Regions from separate parts of the Homo sapiens genome. Here region 1 is linked to region 2. Evidence: promoter capture Hi-C in 16 types of primary human blood cells and fetal thymus (Javierre and others, 2016). All regions are on one chromosome and are shown on one strand. Each heading gives the region's core, a stretch centred on a gene start or on the middle of the fragment in contact. The rest is flanking DNA. Distances are from core to core; before and after follow the strand shown.

Evidence for each region. Contacts are between HindIII fragments. The CHiCAGO score rates a contact against its expected background, and 5 or more counts as called.
Region 1: a contact is called between the fragment with the promoter of SEC24C here and a fragment that was not itself captured in region 2, in 6 of 17 cell types (fetal thymus, non-activated CD4 T cells, naive CD4 T cells and 3 more). The highest score is 7.3, in fetal thymus.

What each region holds. Positions count from the first base shown.
Region 1 is chr10:73,743,059-73,745,758 of GRCh38, forward strand. SEC24C (SEC24 homolog C, COPII component) reads left to right here and starts at 1,314. Exons shown (of 23, transcript NM_198597.3): 1 at 1,314-1,379. LOC124902453 (a long non-coding RNA gene) reads right to left here and starts at 1,207. Exons shown (of 2, transcript XR_007062195.1): 1 at 1,159-1,207; 2 at 1-153. RefSeq lists enhancers at 656-1,855, 695-1,262, 933-1,362, 1,263-1,829. The HindIII fragment of the contact is 9,340 bases long and covers 1-1,742 here.
Region 2 is chr10:73,809,100-73,811,799 of GRCh38, forward strand. NDST2 (N-deacetylase and N-sulfotransferase 2) reads right to left here and starts at 2,499. Exons shown (of 15, transcript NM_003635.4): 1 at 2,375-2,499; 2 at 1,700-1,804. NDST2-ZSWIM8-AS1 (NDST2-ZSWIM8-AS1 readthrough) reads right to left here. Exons shown (of 18, transcript NR_182658.1): 1 at 2,375-2,700; 2 at 1,700-1,804. RefSeq lists silencers at 1,934-2,003, 2,304-2,700. The HindIII fragment of the contact is 756 bases long and covers 934-1,689 here.

The DNA.
Region 1 (2,700 bases), core at 64-2,563, 66 kb before region 2:
GAAGCGGGGAGTGCTGATTGGTCAGGTTGAAGACGGAATCACAGGGAGTCAAAGTGAGGTTTTCTTGCTGTTTTCTGTTCCTGGGTGGAATGGCAGAACTGATTGAGCCAGGTTACTGGTCTAGGTAGTCAGCTGATCCAATGAGTGCAGGGTCTGCAAAACATCTCAAGCACTAATCTTAGGTTTTACAATAGTTATGTTATTCCTAAAAGCAATTTGGGGAGGTTCAGACTCTTGGAGCGAGAGGCTGCATGTCCCCTAAACTGTAATTTGTAATCTTGTAGCTAATTTGTTAGTCCTGTAAAGACAGACTGGTCCCCAGGCAAGAAGGGGGTCTTTTCGGGAAGGGGCTATTATCAATTTTGTTTCAAACCATAAACTGAATTCCTCCCCAAAGTTAGTTCCACCTACACCCAGGAATGAATAAGGACAGCTTAAAGGTTAGAAGCAAGATGGAGTCGGTTAAGTCTGATTTCTTCCACTATCATAATTTCCTCAGTTGTAATTTTGCAAAGGCAGTTTCAACAGCAGTGCTCGAAAAATTATGAAATCAACAAATAGTACTGAAAAGTTCAAATGAAGTCATATATGAAAAAGAAATCCTAGCACTGTTAGCTATAATTACTTAGCCATTAAATGGGGTACTAATAATTACTGCAGGAACTATCTTTTCCAACAGAGCGCAGAGATCTTTTGGCTCTGATAAAGCTCTGCACCTAAACAAAGGCGCTGTATAAAAATGGTTAATAACAATTGACCTTTACTGAGTGCTTACTATGATGCCAAGCGGCCTATGTGGCCTAATTTCATCCTCTGGGCATTATTATTTCCATTTTACAAGCTGTAGAGCCAGACCTCAGACCCCCACATGCAGGTTGACAACAGTTGGTGCCCTTTACCACCACCACACGTTCCGCAAATCTCATAACCAGCAAACGCCATGGGTGAGAGCAACCTAGCGGACGGAAATCAACGGGGTCAGGGGTCACCAGGAAGTGACTACAAGACTCTAGCTCAGAGGTCACTAATACGTCACAGGCAGAGTGAAGGGGCATTATTAAAGATAGTTTGACAAATTCTTTTTAATCTCATTTCTGTTGGTGAGGCCATAAAGTGACTGGAACATCTGAAAAAAAATGTCAGGAGGGAAATACATACGACTCAGCAGAGGCGCACAGGCGGCGGCCATGATGGGAAGATGAAAGAGGCGCATGCGCGGCATCCGGGTCCCCGAAATGCAGACGTGGCAGAAGAAGTGGCCCGGCCCTAAAGCGTGGAGGAGGAACTTCCGGGGGTGACGGGACGGCCCCCTCGGAACCGGAAGTGGAGCCTGGGAGCCTTGACGTTAGGAACGAAGTCTAACCTGGATCTGGAGCCGGGTGAGGAGTGGCATCGGGAGGTTGGCGGGTAGGAAAGCAAAGGAGAGGTCAGGGTATTACTGGCCAGATTGGGGTCCGGTTTCAGAAAGAAGGGAGGAGCCTGGGGGCGGGGCCTGGGTAGAGACCCTCACCTCACGCATCCACCATCCAGGAGCAGGTCCTAGACCATCCCTTCGTCTCCCGGCCCAGATTCCGGCTCCTGCTTCCTGCCCCGAGCCTGTTAAAAGGTGCAAGACGTTTGGTCTCTGTGCTTAACAGAGCAGCCCCCTCTCTTAACGTGGCCCTAGAAGCCGACTTGGCTTCTCGGTTTTGATCCTCGGCTCTCCGAGGCTCCATGGCTTGACTACTTTCAGAGTTCTAGGAAGCTTGCCCCGCCCCCTTGGGTTGTCACCCTCGACTATCCACCCAGAATGGAGTCGAGACTTCAGTCTGACTCCAAGCTCTTGAATGTGTTTGAGGGGATTATTTTCTGGAGAAGAAGCTCCTTTCTTTACCCCTCCCCCCGGCTTTGGAAACATAAAGGGAGAGGACATATTTTAAACTTAGTGTCAGTGACCTACCTCTGTAAGGTTTAGGGTTTGGAAGAACAGCTATTGAGATAACTTTGAGTTTAAAGAGTTTTAGACCAGGATCAGCTCCTTTTCTATAGTCAAGGTGGCCCTTCTAGCAAAGGGGGAGAGGTCCATTGTTCCCTTTGCAGCAACTCTGAGTGCTCCTGCTTTCTGGGCCCCTTCTGTCTACAGGATAATTGGAATGATACAGCTGTTGAAAGTAGATGTGATGAGATAGTTTTCTTGGAAGGACCCTGTTTAGAAAAGGCCCTCTAATTCATCCCTGTGTTGATGAGCAAGATTGTAATAATTTTGATGGTGGCTGAGATTCATAACAATCGTAAGGGGAGCAGAAACAGGAGAGTTGGAGAAGTGCATTGGAATTTAGAATATTCATAGTCTTCTGCTTGAGGGATGAGGTGAATGATTTTTTTCCATGAAATCTAACTCTAACTTTGCCCCTGATTCTTGAACTGTTTCCTCAGATTATGTGAAGAAGTTTTGGTGCCTGTTCTGCACTTGGTTTTAATCTGTTACCTTGCTAGAGTTTTCAGGTGTCCTTTATTTTTTATTTTTTTGAAAGGGCGTCTTGCTCTATTGCTCAGGCTGGAGTGCAGTGGCACGATCTCGGCTTATTGCAATCTCCGCCTCCCGGGTTCAAGCGATTTCTCCTGCCTCAGCCTCCCAAGTAGCTGGGATTACAGGCGTGTGCCACCATGCCCGGCTAGTTTTTGTATTTTTAGTAGAGACTGGGTTTCACCGTGTTGGCC
Region 2 (2,700 bases), core at 62-2,561:
AGCCAGCAACAGCTCTGATCTTTCTGTGAGGAAGGGACGGAAAGCCCCGGAAGTCTTCAGAAGTCCCATGCTCCAACAAAATATCAGATAAGGAACTCATGAGTCTGTTAATCTTCTCATCAATCAAACCCAATATCACAGCCAACAGCTTTAACGAACTTGCAGTCAGGTGGACACTATGGTGGGGGAGTTCAAAAGGAAAGAGCAATCCTCATGATAGGTAATCATTCTACCAGTTTCCAAACCCAGAAATTAGGGACTCCCTTACCCGTTGCTTGTGAAACATTACCTGCCCCTGACCTTCACCTCAACTTTGCCAGTCAGGAGATAAAAATGTAACCCCTGAGCAGGCCACACACTGGGTGCTGAGAAAAGCCATACAGCTGAGTCCACTCTACTTCTCCTTCCTAACTTAGCCTAAGTAGTTCTACAACCCTATTCCTAAACAGCTCAGAAGAGTCCCTGAGCTAGTCTGGAGAGACATGAGGTATTGAGTCCAGTTACACAAACAGAACAACTTGAGTAAGGACTGGATGACAGAGAGCAACAGGAGCTTAAGTCACATCCAACCAATGACAGAAGGAAAAAGGACAGTGTGATCAGAAAACAGTTTTAAGGAGGTCTAATTTTGGGGATCTCTTTTATTATTTTTAGATGGAGTCTTGCTCTGTCACCCAGGATACAGTGTGCTAGTGTGATCATAGCCTACTGCAGCTTCAAACTCCTGGGCTCAAGTGATCCTCCCACCTCAGCCTCCCATGTAGCTGGGACTACAGCTTTGCACCACCACACCCTACTAATTTTTAATTTTTTTTAGAGATGGGGGTCTTGTTACGTTGCCCAGGCTGGTCTTGAACTCCTGGGGTCAGACAGACAATCCTCCGGCCTCAGCCTCCTGAGTCTGTTCTTTTTCTTAAATCGACTGCTTCTGTAAGCTTTATTGTCACTATCCCCACTCAGCCTCCTTGTAAGGCTGGCAATCCCTCTCTACCACCCACCCCCAAACACACATCTCAGGGGTGATAAGGCAGAGCTGAGGTCCTTCAGAATTGACAGAGATGATTTAAAAACAGTTCAGGACAGGCGTGGTGCCTCACGCCTGTAATTCCAGCACTGTGAAAGGCCGAAGCGGGTGATCACTTGAGGTCAGGAGTTCGAGACCAGCCTGGCCAACATGGTGAAGCCCCGTCTCTACTAAAAATACAAAAATTAGATGGGCATGGTGGTGGGCGCCTGTAGTCCCAGCTACTCAGGAGGCTGAGGCAGGAGAATCACTTGAACGTGGGAGGCGGAAATTGCAGTGAGCTGAGATTGTGCCACTGTACTCCAGCCTGGGTGACAGAGCTAGACTCCAGCTCAAAAAAAAATAAAAATAAAAATAAAAATAAAACAGTTCAGCTTTGGCCTAGGTAAAACGACACGAGAAGACAGCTGGGGGAGAGGATCAAAATGGTGACGGGAAGGGGTGAATGCTAAGAATGTGATGCAACTTTAGAGAAAACATTGTAGTGAGGAGGTCACTGACGGGAAGTTGATACTCAGGGTGTATCATCCCGTATTTGAGAAATTACAACTTGCCAGCCATTCTTCTAAGAGCTTCACATATATTTAATCTTCACACCAGCCCTAAGAGGTAGGGAAAAGGTACATGCTCCATTATCCCCATTTCACATATGAGTAACTCAGAGAAGCTTAGAACCTTGCCCAGGATCACACAGCTCAGTTGGTGGGAGGGCTGGGATTCGACGTCAGGCCTGTCAAGCTCCAGAGCCGCGTTCTTAGCCGCTGCATTTTAGCTTCATACCTGGAAGAAGCAGCAAGGTTTAGGGAAGGGGCGCCGGGAGCGCCGCAGGCCGGGCCAGTGAACACTGAGGGCCAGCAGGGCTGGGCGGGGTGGGTGTGTGCGGGAGATCTCTGAGGACGGCGAAGCCAGACGGGGGCCGGGGCCGGGCCCGGGCTTGGGGAGGCCGGGACGGCCGGAGCAGCGGCGCGGAGGCTGCGGGCGCCGAGGGGGCCCGGGGCTGGCGGGTGGAGGGGCCCCGCCGAGAGGAGACGGGGGCACAGGTGGATGCGAAGAGCGCACCGGATGTGGGACACCAAAGGGGAAGGGGCCACAGGCGCGCGGCGGCGACTCCGGGGTGACATCGAGACAGCCTCTGGGCTGGGAGAGCCCTGCGGGAAGAAGGGAGCCCGCCCGGTCCGGAGGGGAGCGAGGCGGTTCTGAGGGAGGCCGGCGGAAAGGACCCGGGGCGCGGCGCACGCTGGGCCGCCCGGGACGACCCTGCGGGTGGTGATGGTGGCAACATCCAAGGGAGTCTGTTGGGGGGGCCTGAGCGCGACCGTGGGCGGGGGGGTCTCCTCAGGGGCGGCTCACCCGGAGGACTGGGCGGCGTCCCCGCTGTCCCCGGGCTCCGCCGCGTCCCGGGGCTGCCCGGCTTCCCTGCTTTCGGGGCCACGGGCCGCGTCGCGGCTGCTCCGCCATCTCCGAGCGAACGCTCTGCCGCAGCCTGGCCCAACCACCGCTCCCACCGGGGGAGGCGGCGCGCCGCCGCTGGTGGCACCCGCTCGGATCCACCGGCTCCGGCCCTAGCAGCCGCGCGACCTGGGTTCCGGGAAATCAAGCGGCCCTCCGCAGTGCCGGGCCGAGCCGCGGCCTCCGAGACGGCGGGCTCCGCGCCCCGCCCGCGGAAGCGCACCCCC